5 separate regions of the Homo sapiens genome follow, and all the other regions are linked to region 1. The links are contacts of gene promoters, found by promoter capture Hi-C in blood cells and fetal thymus (Javierre and others, 2016). All regions are on one chromosome and are shown on one strand. The core of a region is centred on a gene start or on the middle of the fragment in contact, and the rest is flanking DNA. Distances in the headings are between cores, read along the strand shown.

The links. Contacts are between HindIII fragments. The CHiCAGO score rates a contact against its expected background, and 5 or more counts as called.
Region 2: a contact is called between the fragment with the promoter of ZNF564 here and the fragment with the promoter of ZNF878 in region 1, in 1 of 17 cell types (endothelial precursors). The highest score is 5.8, in endothelial precursors.
Region 3: a fragment that was not itself captured here is called in contact with the fragment with the promoter of ZNF878 in region 1 in 6 of 17 cell types (erythroblasts, fetal thymus, M1 macrophages and 3 more); the score reaches 7.7 in erythroblasts.
Region 4: a fragment that was not itself captured here is called in contact with the fragment with the promoter of ZNF878 in region 1 in 14 of 17 cell types (megakaryocytes, M0 macrophages, activated CD4 T cells and 11 more); the score reaches 9.4 in megakaryocytes.
Region 5: a contact is called between a fragment that was not itself captured here and the fragment with the promoter of ZNF878 in region 1, in 1 of 17 cell types (erythroblasts). The highest score is 6.3, in erythroblasts.

Annotation. Positions count from the first base shown.
Region 1 is chr19:12,051,562-12,054,450 of GRCh38, reverse strand. It overlaps ZNF878 (zinc finger protein 878), which reads left to right and starts at 1,490. Exons shown (of 4, transcript NM_001080404.3): 1 at 1,490-1,652. The coding sequence starts at 1,650. RefSeq lists an enhancer at 1,151-1,656 and a silencer at 1,845-1,894. The HindIII fragment of the contact is 8,690 bases long and covers 1-2,425 here.
Region 2 is chr19:12,550,107-12,552,995 of GRCh38, reverse strand. ZNF564 (zinc finger protein 564) reads left to right here and starts at 1,514. Exons shown (of 4, transcript NM_144976.4): 1 at 1,514-1,666. The coding sequence starts at 1,664. It overlaps LINC02926 (long intergenic non-protein coding RNA 2926), which reads right to left and starts at 1,270. Exons shown (of 2, transcript NR_187485.1): 1 at 127-1,270. RefSeq lists enhancers at 1-463, 1,247-1,541, 1,607-1,716, 2,375-2,877 and a silencer at 1,947-2,026. The HindIII fragment of the contact is 25,081 bases long and covers 507-2,889 here.
Region 3 is chr19:12,525,428-12,528,316 of GRCh38, reverse strand. ZNF564 (zinc finger protein 564) reads left to right here. Exons shown (of 4, transcript NM_144976.4): 3 at 1-13; 4 at 401-2,889. The coding sequence ends at 1,871. Among named protein-coding and RNA genes, the nearest start is that of ZNF564, 25 kb to the left of the region's middle. The HindIII fragment of the contact is 920 bases long and covers 909-1,828 here.
Region 4 is chr19:12,494,182-12,497,070 of GRCh38, reverse strand. No RefSeq gene overlaps it. Among named protein-coding and RNA genes, the nearest start is that of ZNF709, 11 kb to the right of the region's middle. RefSeq lists enhancers at 1,448-1,527, 789-1,668, 1,669-2,549 and a silencer at 1,718-1,767. The HindIII fragment of the contact is 913 bases long and covers 987-1,899 here.
Region 5 is chr19:12,468,263-12,471,151 of GRCh38, reverse strand. The region is part of intron 1 of ZNF709 (zinc finger protein 709); the gene reads left to right. Among named protein-coding and RNA genes, the nearest start is that of ZNF709, 15 kb to the left of the region's middle. The HindIII fragment of the contact is 9,028 bases long and covers 1-2,889 here.

The DNA of each region.
Region 1 (2,889 bases), core at 241-2,740:
CCACCCACCTCGGCCTCCCAAAGTGCTGGGATTACAGGCATGAGCCACCATGCCTGGCCCTAATCTATTTACTTATCTTTTTGGTAGAGACCTGGTCTCACTGCGCCCGGCCACTGGTTTTTTGTTTTGTTTTGTTTTGTTTTTTTGAGACACAGTCTTGCTCTGTGGCCCAGGCTGGAGTACAGTGGTGCGATCTCTGCTCACTACAAGCTCCACCTCCCGTGTTCTCGCCATTCTCCTGCCTCAGCCTCCCGAGTAGCTGGGACTACAGGCGCCCACCACCACGCCCGGCTAATTTTTTTTTTGTATTTTTAGTAGAGACGGGGTTTCACCGTATTAGCCAGGATGGTCTCGATCTCCTGACCTCGTGATCCGCCCACCTCGGTCTCCCAAAGTGCTGGGATTACAGGCGTGAGCCACTGCGCCCGGCCAGCGCCCGGCCATTTAAAAAAATTTTAAATAATAAAGACAGGGATCGGCGGGCGAGGTGGCTCACGCCTGTAATCCCAGCACTTTAGGAGGCCGAGGCGGGCGGATCACCTGAGGTCGTGAGTTCGAGACCAGCCTGACCAACATGGAGAAACCCCGTCTCTACTAAAAATACAAAATTAGCGGGGCGTGGTGGCGCATGTCTGTAATCCCAGCTATTTGGGAGGCTGGGGCAGGAGAATCGCTTGAACCTGGGAGGCGGAGGTTGCAGTGAGCCAAGATCTCGTGCCACTGTGCTCCAGCCTGGGCGACAGATCGAGACTGTCTAAAAAAAAAAAAAAAAAAGAAAGAAAGACAGGGATCTCGCTGTGTTGATGATGTTGGCCTCAAACTCCTTGCTTCAAGGGATCCTTCCGCCTCAGTTTGCCAATGTGGTGGGATTATAGACATGAGTCACCATGTGCTACCTCTCTTCAGATTTTAAAGGTGTCAAACTCTCAATAGCTTTTAGATCAGGGAAAGGAAAAGAACGGGGGAGCTGGCAGTGCTTCATTAACGGAGATTCTCTACAAATGTAAATTTCCCCCTCAAAAGACAGTTTTGCAAGGCCACCTTTTGTTTGCTGGCCAAGCAGCAGCCATTTCAAAACTGTCAAAGAAATATATTTTGGCAGGGCAATATCTTGGGGCAAAATATTTTAATGTCTTTCACATTTTGTGGACACTGAATCTGGAATTCCCTGCACACTTGTGTCCCGTGTAGGATGAAGGGGCAGGGACGGCCCACGGAGTGAGGAAGACAACAGTGTCCCTTCTAGCAGTTCGGAGCAAGTTTGGCCGAAGGCAAATATTCGAAGTAAAGGTGGGAGGGAGGGAGGGAGCTGACCTTGGAAAGTGTGGCCAGAACCAGTCGCTTCGGCTCTGCAGCGCCCAGTTACCCGGGGCTTCTGCTGTCACTCAGGGAAGGGGGCGGAGTCTAGACCCCTATCCAATCAGGGGCGCTAGGGCGGGGCCCTGCCACTGTCCTCCAGGGAAGGGGAGGTTGCATTCCCGCTCTCTTCACTCCTAGGGCTGCTCGCGCTAGTTAAGGTCTGGGGCTTTCTTGCTCCGAGAGGGACCAGTTACTTCCGCCGTAGCTGCTGTTGCTCTGTCGACTGCGCTGTGACCTGCACTGTTCACGGGACCTTTAGAGAGGACGCCAGAATACCTGGAAGCCAGGAAATGGTGAGCATGCGGTGCTGGGGAGTCCCAAGGCGAAAGGAGGGACTGGGTGGAACCGAGAGGAACCCGCTGTGGCGGGGCCCGGGCCCCCCTGCAGCGACTCTGGGCTCCAGACACAGTCCCCCTAGCGCAGCTCGGCCCTCGGTCCCCTCGGCCGCTGGGTGGAGCTGGGCCGGCAGCCGGGACCCCGGGCGTCCTGTCCGGTCCCTGCGCGGCGACTGCGGCCCCGGCCCCGGCTCCCTCTCTGAGCAGCTCCGCGCCCGCAGCCCCGCGTCTCCCCAGATTGTGCGGTGACCATGGAAGGGTCATGGGGGATCCTGCCTCGGGTGTGGGGTTCGTGTGGGAGGAGCTGTGGGCTGTGGGGTCCCCAGTTCCTTTTTTTTTCCAGTTAAAAATTAAACTGAGGCACTGTTAAAAAATGAGAGTTTATTTTAGCAAACAGCGATTAATGAATGAGAAACTCCCAGTCCTGGCTTGTGGTTTGGTAACGGAAAAACCCAAATCGTGTAGAATAAGTTTATTCTGAGCCGAATAGGAGAGACCTCGGCTGAGGGAAACACAACCCCGCGAAGTCTGGAGTAAGCAATCCCGAGGCAGCTCCTGACAGTTTGGTTTTATTCATTTCAGGGAGACAGGAATTGCAGGAAAATGATGAATCAGTGCCGGGAAGGTGTAAGTTCCTTTGGCCGAAAGGCGGGACACATGGAAGCGGGGTTAGAAGGCACAGGTGGTGGAGGGATTCTGTAGGTGGCAGTTGGTTGAGAGTGTGTAAAGCTTTGTCTAAAATTTGGAGGCTGTAGGAAGGAGGGCTGTTATCTGCCACGTTATTCCATCCCAGTCCCCGCCCCCTTCCCCAAAAGACCTGTTTTTATTTTACCAGATTTTTATATTTTTGAGACGGAGTCTCGCTCCGTCGCCCCAGGCTGAAGTGCTGTGGCGCCATCTCGGCTCACTGCAACCTCCGCCTCCCGGGTTCAAGCGATTCTCTTGCCTCAGCCTCCCGAGTAGCTGGGACTACAGGCGCCAGCCACCACGCCCGGCTAATTTTTGTATTTTTAGTAGAAACGGGTTTCACCATATTGGCCAGGCTGGTCTTGAACTCCTCCTGACTTTGTGATCCGCCCACTTCGGCCTCCCAAGGTACTGGGATTACAGGCGTGAGCCACTGCGCCCGGCCAATTTTTGTATTTTTAGTAGAGACGGGGTTTCATGATATTGGCCAGGCTGGTCTCGAACTCCT
Region 2 (2,889 bases), core at 265-2,764, 500 kb before region 1:
CGTGAGCCACCGCGCCTGGCCAGGAATGTGGATTCTGAGAAGCTGCAGAGCTGTGAAAAGCAGGAGACCCATGTGCAGATGTGGTTGGGTTGGGGGTGGAGGGTTCTGTCTTTTCTGAGGTTGTACCTTTGGCGCCTGGGGCCATTTCCTGGACAGTGTTTTGGTTTTAGCATTCATGGGGTCGCTGAGTCAGGCTGTAATTTGTATACATGAAGAAAATCTGTGAGGGTCAGACTCAGTGAAAAACTTGTTTGCATTGTCCCCTGGAGAAAAGGTTTGGGAACATGACAATTTATTTAGGTCACGACTTTACATTGACTCCGGGTGAGAGTTTCCTGCTGGTACAAATGAAGGTTTTGAAGGAAAGAGTGTTTCCACACTGTGAGGAGAGGACTGGAGGGCACCTTGAGCTCCCAAAGTTGAATTCTTAAGTGTCCCTGTCTCATCACCAGGTTCTGATCCACACTGGGGTTCCATTTCAGCAGTTAGAGTCTGGGTCCCAAGCTTGGGATTATTTTATTTTATATTTCATTTCTTCATTTCATTATTTCATTTCATTTCATATTTCATTTTTTAGTCTCGCTCTGTCGCCCAGGCTGGAGTGCAATGGCGCTATCTCGGCTCACTGCAACTTCCCCCTCCCAGGTTCAAGCGATTCTCGTACCTCAGCTTCCCGAGTTGCTGGGATTACAGGCACCTGCCACCACGCCTGGCTAATTTTTGTATTTTTAGTAGAGATGGGGTTTCACCATGTTGGTTAGGCTGGTCTTGAACTCCTGACCTTAAGCAATTTTCTCACCTTGGCCTTCCAAAGTTCTGGGATTACAGGCGTGAGCCACCGCGCCCGGCGCTTGGGAATATTTTTAACGTTATGATTGTGGGTTTTCCTTGTGAACTGCGGGTGAAGCAGGCTGCTTGTCTGAGCTAGTTCAAATGTTTGCTTACTTCTCTTGGTTTCTTTATAGATGATCGCTGTCATAAAAACTCCAGTTTTTCCTATACATTTAATACTTTTATTTCTTTGTCCGTTTTAATTTTCTTGCCTGAAAGAAGCAAGCCCTCCTCCCTCCTGTTACACTGTGGTCTGGCCTGGCCTGGGCGCGCCTCCTACTCCGAGGCCAGGGGATGGCTCCACTGGACGCCGAGTCTGTCATTCCCTGTGCACACTTGTGACTCTGTGTCCGGGAGGAAAAGGCAGGAAGGGCACCCTGAGTGCAGAAACACGCCAGTGTCACCTCTGCAGAGCCTGAAACACTTTCTGCTTAAATGCAAATATCCTCCCCGGCACAGAAGGTTACAGAAGGAGGAAGCCCGGCCCGCGAAGGGCAGTGGCCAAGACCCTGTCAATCTGTCTTTACTCAGCCACATACCGCATTGCTTCTCCTGTCACTCAGTACCAAGGGGGCAGGACTTGAATCATCACCCAATCAGGGGCACTGGGGCGGGAACCTGCAAACCATCCAATCAGGAACTCTGCAAGGGGGACAGGGGCAATGTTCAACAACTCCGCGGGGTCTTCCTGTTTCGTGTCCGCTGCGTTTGGGTTCCGGTCTCCGCTTCTCCAGTGGCCCCGGTGGCTCCACCGCAGCGTCTGGCGCGCTGGGACCTGCACAGGCCGGAGAGAGCCGTAGGCAGGACCCCGGGACACCCTGGAAGCCAGGAAATGGTGCGTGTGCGGGGCCGGGCGCCTGGAGACTGGGGGAGGGGCTTGTGGGAACCGGCCGGAACCGGCTGTGGAAGCACCCTGGCCTCCCTGCAGCGACTCCAGGGTCTGGGACCCGAGTTCCCTGGCGCAGCTCGGCCCTCTGTCCCCTCGGCCGCAGGGTGGGTTGGGCCGTAGCCAGTACCCCAGGCGTCCTGTCCCGTCCCTGCGCGGCGACTGCGGCCTCGGCCTCGGAGCCCTGTCTGGGCAGCTCCGCGCCCGCAGCCCCGCCTCTCTCCAGATTGTTTGTACTGGGACACGGGAGGGTCATAAGGCGGAATCCCGTCTCGGGTGTGCGGTTCGTGCATGGGAAGAGCTGTGGGCTGTGGCCTTCCCAGTACATCGTCTTTTTTTCCGGGGGACTGGTCTTCCTCCGAGTCTTCCAAACGTACTGGAAAAAGAATCTCAAACCTACGACTCCCGTTTTTTTTAGCCTAGCTTTTTCTGGGGCTGGAAATAAATGCCTAAATTTCCGGTTCCTTCCCCGCATTCCCAAAGGTGACCTCCCCTCGCCAAATCAACATTATCAGCTGTTTTTTGTTTGACATTTAAGACACAGTATTTTAGTTGTTTATAGTTTCTTTCACCATACTCTTTTGAAAGGATTTGTTTTCTGTTTGTTGTTTTTTTTTTCTTTTCAGACAGAGTTTCGCTCTGTCGCCCAGGCTGGAGTGCAGTGGGAAGATCTCAGCTCACTGCAACCTTCGCCTTCCGGGTTCAAGCAATTCTCCTGCCTCAGCCTCCTGAGTAACTGGGATTACAGGCATGCGCCGCCACGACCGGCTACTTTTTGTATTTTTGGTAGAAACTGGGTTTCTCCATGTTGGCCAGGTTGGTCTCAAACTCCAGACCTCAGGTGATCCGCTCACCTCCGCCTCCCAAAATGCTGGTATTACAGACGTGAGCCACCGCGCCCGGCCTCTTGTTTGTGTACTTGTAACCTGAGAGGGAAACGGAGAATAAGAACCTGACACTCTACGGTAAAATTTTTTTTTTTTTTTGAGACAGAGTTTCGCTCTTATTGCCCAGGCTGGAGTGCAATGGCGCGATCTCAGCTCACTGCAACCTCCACCTCCTGGGTTCAAGCGATTCTCCTGCCTCAGCCTCCCGTGTAACTGGGATTACAGGCATGCGCCACCATGCCCGGCTAATTTTGTATTTTTAGTAGAGACAGGGTTTCTCCATGT
Region 3 (2,889 bases), core at 119-2,618, 470 kb before region 1:
GGAGAATTTTAAGGTAATTTGCACTGACAAGATAAAGCAATGTCTCCTTCTTAGTATGTCATGAAATTTTAAAAATAAGTAAACAAACCAGTAAGCCCAGCTTCAGATTTATTTATTCCTACAACTTTTTCACCAGAAAAAGAAAAAGTGGCATAGATGTTCAGTGTTGCAAAATCATTCACTTGGAAATAGTATTAAGAAACTGTATATATGGATATCACTTTTTTGGTGATAGCTACTGTCAAGCTCTCTTGCAGAGCATTCCATCCATTCACTTTCAAACAATTCATACAGGCCTGAAAACTTACCCTTTCCGCGATTATGGTAAAAATGTAAGTCGAATACCTATTAATAAATATAAAGTCACAAACCACTAAATCTTGCTTTCTATTTTTTCCAGAAATCATATGGAAGAGGGACTCAGTGAAAGTAAAGAATATGATCAATGTGGAGAAGCCTTCAGTCAGATTCTCAATCTTAATCTGAACAAGAAAATTCCTACTATAGTAAGACCATGTGAATGTAGTTTGTGTGGGAAAGTCTTCATGCATCATTCATCCCTTAGTAGGCACATCAGATCTCACCTTGGACACAAACCATATGACTATCAGGAATATGGAGAGAAACCATATAAATGTAAGCAGTGTGGGAAAGCCTTCAGTTCTTGTCAATCCTTTCGAAGACATGAAAGAACTCACACTGGTGAGAAACCCTATGCATGTCCGGAATGTGGGAAAGCCTTCATTTCTCTCCCAAGTGTTCGAAGACACATGATTAAGCACACTGGAGATGGACCATATAAATGTCAGGAATGTGGGAAAGCCTTTGATCGCCCAAGTTTATTTCAGATACATGAAAGAACTCACACTGGAGAGAAACCCTATGAATGTCAGGAATGTGCAAAAGCTTTCATTTCTCTTCCAAGTTTTCAAAGACACATGATTAGGCACACTGGAGATGGACCTTATAAATGTCAGGAATGTGGAAAAGCCTTTGACCGCCCCAGTTTATTTCGAATACATGAAAGAACTCATACTGGAGAGAAACCCCATGAATGTAAACAGTGTGGGAAGGCCTTCATTTCTTTCACAAATTTTCAAAGTCATATGATTAGGCACACTGGGGATGGACCTTATAAATGTAAAGTATGTGGGAGAGCCTTTATTTTTCCCAGTTATGTTCGAAAGCATGAAAGAACTCATACTGGGGAGAAACCCTATGAATGTAATAAATGTGGTAAAACCTTCAGTTCTTCCAGTAATGTTCGAACACATGAAAGGACTCACACTGGAGAGAAGCCCTATGAATGTAAGGAATGCGGGAAAGCCTTCATTTCTCTCCCAAGTGTCCGAAGACACATGATAAAGCACACTGGAGATGGACCTTATAAATGTCAGGTATGTGGTAGAGCCTTTGACTGTCCCAGTTCATTTCAAATACACGAAAGAACTCACACTGGAGAGAAACCCTATGAATGTCAGGTATGTGGGAAAGCCTTCATTTCTCTTAAAAGGATTAGAAAACATATGATACTGCACACTGGAGATGGACCTTATAAATGTCAGGTATGTGGTAAAGCCTTTGACTGTCCTAGTTCTGTCCGAACACATGAAAGAACTCATACTGGAGAAAAACCCTATGAATGTAAAGAATGTGGGAAAGCATTCAATTATGCCAGTTCCATTAGAATACATGAAAGAACTCATACCGGAGAAAAACCCTATGAATGTAAGCAATGTGGAAAAACGTTCAGTTATTCCAGTTCCTTTCAAAGACATGAAAGAGCTCATAATGGAGATAAACCTTACGTAAAGAATGTGGGAAAGCTTTCATTTATCACACAACCTTCGAATACCTGTGAAAATGAATAGTGGAGGACAGGTCTACAAGTATCTACATATCTAAAGAATATGGAAAGTCTTCAGTTTGCTTTCTGGGTTTCAGACTTGTTTGGGAGCTCACCCCTTTCTCCTGTTTCTCACTTTTGGAATAGGAATCTCTATCCTGTGCCTGTCTCATATTTTGGAAATACATGACTAGTTTGGTTTTCACCGGTTCGGAGCTGAAGAAGAATTTTGCCTCAGCATGAATTGAGTCTCATCCATATCTGAGTGATGTGATATTGAGATGACACTTTGGAGTTTGAGTTTAAACATTAGGCTTCATGCTGGAATTAACTGAGACTTTTGAGGCCTTTGGGATGAGATGAATATATTTTACATGTGATGACATGGATTTTGGGGGCCAGAGGTGTAATGTTTTGGCTGAGTGTATGCCACCTCAGATTCATATGTTGAAACCTTACCCCCGTGCCCCCCCTCTCCCCCACAATGTGATGGTATTTGGAGGCCCTGTCTCTGGTGGTTTTTAGGATTGGAGGACATCATGAAGATGGAGGCCTTGTAATTGGGATTAGTTTCCTGATAGGAATCCCTAGAGAGCTAGCTTTGCCCTTCACCATGAGAGGGTGCAGTGAGAAGATAGCTATCTTTGAACCGGGAAGCAGGCCCTTACCAGACATGGACTATGCCAGTGCCTTGATATTGGACTTCCCAGCCTCCCAAACCATGAGAAATAAATGTTTGTTGATTAATTAAGCTTTCCAATTTATGGTATTTTGTTTTAGCAACCCAAGCTAAGACACAATCCAATTTTAAAATGGAGGAAAGGACTTGAATAGACATTTCTCCAAAGAAGATACCCAGATGGCCAATAAGCACGTAACAATGCTCGACATCTTTAGTCATTAGGGAAATACAAATCAAACTCAAGACATACATAGCATCTCATTAGGATTAGTAGTATCAAAGATGGAAAACAAGAAATACTGTCAAGGATGTGGAATGTTGGAGAACATTGTGCACTATCACTGGGAATGTACAGTGGTAT
Region 4 (2,889 bases), core at 194-2,693, 440 kb before region 1:
AGACAGAACTTGTAACTTTCACAGACTTTTTCAATATGGAAAAATTACACCACGAGTGTACCCTAATGTGAAAGCAAAACTCAAACCTAATGTCTAAAAGTAGACCCAAGGAAACTACAATTACAACCTAGACAATTAAAACCCTCCCGGTTCTCCTAAAACCGCGTGCGGTTCCCAGCATTCCAGTGCTCTGTAGCTTCTCTCTGTATAAAGAGCTCTTTCCTTGGTGGGTGAGAGCAAGTAGGACACTTTTGGGGAAGGCTCCCCAGGAAGACCCATCTGGGCTTTCAATGACCTCCCTTTGCAGGCTCAAGAGTGGTCTTAGCTTGAAGTCACTAGTCTCTGGCTGCTGCTCCCCAGTCATGGGGCTTTCAACCGCTATTGATGTTTATTTTTTTGAGACAGGGTCTCCCTCTGTCACCCAGGCTGTAGCGCAGTGGCGAGATCATAGCTCACCGCAGCCTCGACCTCCAGGGCTTGGGCTTAAGTGAGCCTCCCACCTCAGCCCCCTGAGTAGCTGGGACTACAAGCACAGGCCATCATGCAGCTAATTTTTGTATTTTTAGTAGAGACGAGGGTTTCACCATGTTCGCCAGGCTGGTCTCGAACTCCTGACCTCAAATGATCCACCCACCTCGGCCTCCCAAAGTGCTGGGATTACAGGCGTGAGCCATCACGCCCAGTTGAAAGACGGGAACTTTCAAAGTTGCTTTTCTGGTAAAAGTTAAAGCAGAGGGGACTTTCTTTATCATGTTGGCTAAAACTGGCCTGTTGGGGATTTGACCAGCATCTCTTTCTCTCCTGATAATTTGTAAGGTCAGATAAACAACTTAGTTTCAGCTTGGTAGCGAGGAACGTCCCCGTGGGTAACTCATTTTGGTTTGGTCTGTTGGGTCTAGTGCAGGAGCTCAGTCTAAACCAATGGCTTCCTACAAATTGTATTTAACAGGGCAAATAATAATATTATGAATTGGAGAGGGAAAGCTTCATTTGGAATGAAAGAAGGAATTGGCAAATTTAGGGATTTCCTGTCAGTCCTAGGAAGAGCTAGGCTGGAAAACGGGGTCGTGGATTTGAGATCCTGTTTTCACACGTTTGTAAAATTAAGGGGCAAACCGGTCCCCCTGGGGAAAAAGAAGAGACTGGGGACCCCACGGACCACCGCTCCTCCCACGCACGAACGCCACACTCGAGCCGGGATTCCTTCTCTCCTATGACCCTCCCGTGATCCCCACACAATCTTGGAAGACGCGGGGCTACGGGCATGGAGCTGCCCACACAGGGCTCCGGGACCCGGGCCTCAGTAGCCGCGCGGGGACAGGACAGGACTCCCGGGATCCTGGCTGCCGGCCCAGCTTCACTCTGCGGCGGGAGGAGGCCGAGGGCCGAGCTACGCCAGGGGGACTCGGGTTCACAGACCCAGGAGTGGCCGCGGGCAGGCCCGGTTCCCGCGACAGCCGGTTCCGGCCAGCAGCTCTTCAGGTCTCGGGATTCCAGGCCCCGCACAGTCACCATTTCCGGGCTTCCGCGGTGTCCCCACCCCCTAACTACGACTCCCTCTGCCAGTGCGGGTCCCAGAGCGACAGAGGCTGCGGCAGAGCCACCTAGCGACGTTCGAGGCAGGAGAGACACAAACTGGAAATCGCGCCACCGTATCCACGCGCCTTTGTACAGGGCGGCCCCACCCACCGCTCCGGCGGCGTCTCCAATTGGACAGTTTGTGAGGTTCCACCCCCTGTTGCCTGAGTCACATCTCAGACGGAGGTCAGGTAGCTGAGCGATCCAGCTTCCACTTTTGTCCCTGAAACTGTCCTGCCAGAGACATTTGCATTATACCAGAACTTTATATGCTAGATATAAAGGCCCTCAGACCGGACACTGGCGTTTACCGAAGAAGCTTCTGAACGGGGACATAGGTGTGCGCGCAGGGAATGCCAGACAAGAGTTTCCAGATAAAGCGAACCCCTTGATGACTGACTCTTTGAGGAGTAAATCCACAGCAAAAGGGCCCTGGAGGCAAGGCCATACTGGATCAGGAGAGTCAGATATTCTCCAGAGGACAGTGGCTTGGCATCATGCTGCCAGGACACTCAGAACTGTGACCCCGTAGGTTCACAGAGACCAGGCAATGTTTACATTTTTAATTTTAAGTTTTGTTGTGGGTACATAGTAGGTGTATATATTTATGAGTTACATGAGATATTTTGATGTAAGCATGCAATGCCTAATAATCACATCATGGTAAATGGGGAATCCATCAACTCAAGCATTTATCCTTTGTGTTACAAACAAGCCGATTATACTCTTTTAGTTATTTAAAAATGTGCAACCAAATTATTTTTTACTATAATCACCCTGTTATGCTAGCAAATACTAGGTCTCATTCATTCTATTTTTTGTGGCCATTAACCATCTTCACTTCCCCTTCCCCCAACCCCCGCACTACCCTTTCCAGCCTCTGGTAACCATCCTTCTACTCTCTATCTCCATGAGGTCAATTGTTTTAATTTTTTGCTCCCAAAAATAAGTGAGAACATGTGAAGTTTGTCTTTCTGTGCCTGGCTTATTTCGCTTAACATAATGACCTCTAATTCCATCCAAATTGTTGCAAATGACAGGATCTCATTCTTTTTTATGGCTGAATAGTACTCCATTGTGTATTTGGAACATTTTTTTTTTAATCCATTCATCTGTTGAGGGACAGTTAGGTTGCTTCTAAATCTTGGGGATTGTGAATAATGCTGCAATAAACATAGGAGTGCAGATATCTCTCTTCAATACATGGATTTCCTTTCTTTGGGGTATTTACCTAAAAGTGGGGTTGCTGGATCAAATGGCAGCTCTATTTTTATTTTTTTTGTGTGTGTGGAACCTCCAAACTGTTCTCTA
Region 5 (2,889 bases), core at 247-2,746, 420 kb before region 1:
CTCAATTCCCCAAGCAACAAGTTGTGATATGATATATTGTCTGCTAGGGAAGCTCATTAGAGACCCAGTGCTCACAGTGCTTTTGGGGGGCGGATCAAGTAGGCATCCTCTGCCTGGCATGTGAAAAAGTCCAGACTCTAAGAAGGAAAAAAGGAGTTCAATATATACTCTATTGATTCCATAAACCATTTAGGCACGCTAAGCCACTCTTTTTTTTTTTTTTTTGAGGTGGAGTCTCGCTCTGTTGCCCAGGCTGGAGTGCAGTGGCATGATCTTGGCTCACTGCAAGCTCTGCCTCCCGGGTTCACGCCATTCTCCTGCCTCAGCCTCCCGAGTAGCTGGGACTACAGGCTCCCGACATCACACTCAGCTAATTTTTTGTATCTTCAGTACAGACGGGGTTTCACTGTGTTAGCCAGGATGGTCTCGATCTCCTGACCTTGTGATCCGCCCACCTCAGCCTCCCAAAGTGCTGGGATTACAGCGTGAGCCACTGCACCCAGCCACACACTAAGCCACTCTTTATCACTTAGGTTGGCGGGGTCCCTCCCAAATTCTCACTTCCCAGATATCAGTGAAGGACAACAAATGTTTGGAGACCACAGAATCATATGTGAACTTTTTATGAATTGAATATATACCCTCAGGCATTTAAAGATAAGTAGTCTTAGGTTAACATTTTACTAATGTTAACAGTCTTCTGCACACTAGGTAGTAGGAATTTCTTTGAACAAGTGCCATAGAACCACTGTACAAGGAACAATTAGAACTTACGTGATCAGCTCATTTTACTCCTTTGACCCAACAACAAGAAAGGTGTGGATATTTCTGTTACTTTACCAAATAGGTAAATTCTAGTATCAGGATTGCTGTTTGGGAGCATTTTTTCTGTCCTTTGCATATGGACATCAGTAGGTTAATGATCTTTTTCAAAGGCCAAGATTTAGGGGAATTATGCCACTGAGGGATTCCTATGCTTTGGTGTCGGGATCTCATGCCACCACGTACCTCACGGGAGCCTAAAATGAGAGACGTTGGGAGGATGGCCAGCCTCTAGAGTAGCTGTTTGCGGATCACTTCTTTCTGAAATTGGAGAAAGGGAATTTCATATCCTTTTGGAGGACAGCACTGCTGAACCCTTTGAATTTTGTAATCATGGGCAAATTCAGTATGAAACCATTGTGGACTTGGGTGAACTCCCTTGCAAATTGAAACTGTTAACCTGTTACTCAAATTCGTTAAGTCTCAGGGTACACTGTTAGGTTTCTGAGGGAAAGAGCTGTTCTGGCATCTTATCATCTCCATCCTATGTGTGCTAACAGTGGTCGCAGTCCTGAGGCTCATGAGTGTGGGGATTTTTTGAAGACTTAATTTTATTTTTTTGAGACAGAGTCTTGCTCTGTCACCCAGGCTGGAGTGCAGTGGTGCGATCTCGGCTCACTGCAAGCTCTGCCTCCCAGGTTCACGCCATTCTCCTGCCTCAGCCTCCTGAGTAGCTGGGTCTACAGGCGCCCACCACCACACCCAGCTAATTTTTTTGTATTTTTAGTAGAGACAGGGTTTCACCATGTTAGCCAGGATGGTCTCTATCTCCTGACCTCGTGATCCACCCTTCTCAGCCTCCCAAAGTGCTGGGATTATAGGCGTGAGCAACCGCGCCTGGTGAAGATTTAATTTTTATGATCTAAGTTGCCATGCCTTTTTCCTCCTGCCTGTGCTCTAACATCCCAGTAACCTCCTGCCTCCATCAAATGGGACAGGGAGAAAAAAGAAACACTGGGTCTGTGATAAATATTATACAAACAAGTTAAAATTAATATTTCACTAAAAGAATATTTTCACTCCACCAGTTGGATCTGACTAATTCTAATGGTCTGCAGTACTTCGGTACAACATGGCCAGCAGGATGTTGTTGCAAGTTGCACGGGCCCTCTGGCTTTTCAGTGTAATCATGGGAATAGAAGAAAAAATGTACAGTTCTTCAGTATATACTTATTCATTAAAATCTCGTGGCTGGGTGCGGTGGCTCACACCTGTAATCCCAAGCACTTTGGGAGGCCGAGGTGGGCGGATCACGAGGTCAGGAGATCGAGACCATCCTGGCTAACATAGTGAAACCCCGTCTCTACTAAATATACAAAAAATTAGCCGGGCATAGTGGCGGGCGCCAGTAGTCCTAGCTACTCAGGAGGCTGAGGCAGGAGAATGGCGTGAACCCGGGAGGCAGAGCTTGCAGTGAGCTGAGATCGCGCCACTGCACTCTAGCCTGGGCGTCAGAGCAAGACTCTGTCTCAAAAAAAAAAAATCTCGTACAGATTTGACCCTGTGTTTCATGGGATGCTGAGTGATATAGTACATGATAAAGCAGGAGATAAAAAGTATTTTTCTTACAAGGAATTGTTGGTCTTAAACTGGAAATATTTGCTTCAATCGTATAGCATTTCTTTTTTTTTTTTTTTTTATTGATCATTCTTGGGTGTTTCTCGCAGAGGGGGATTTGGCAGGGTCATAGGACAATAGTGGAGGGAAGGTCAGCAGATAAACAAGTGAACAAAGGTCTCTGGTTTTCCTAGGCAGAGGACCCTGCGGCCTTCCGCAGTGTTTGTGTCCCTGGGTACTTGAGATTAGGGAGTGGTGATGACTCTTAACGAGCATGCTGCCTTCAAGCATCTGTTTACCAAAGCACATCTTGCACCGCCCTTAATCCATTTAACCCTGAGTGGACACAGCACATGTTTCAGAGAGCACAGGGTTGGGGGTAAGGTCATAGATCAACAGGATCCCAAGGCAGAAGAATTTTTCTTAGTACTGAACAAAATGAAAAGTCTCCCATGTCTACTTCTTTCTACACAGACACAGCAACCATCCGATTTCTCAATCTTTTCCCCA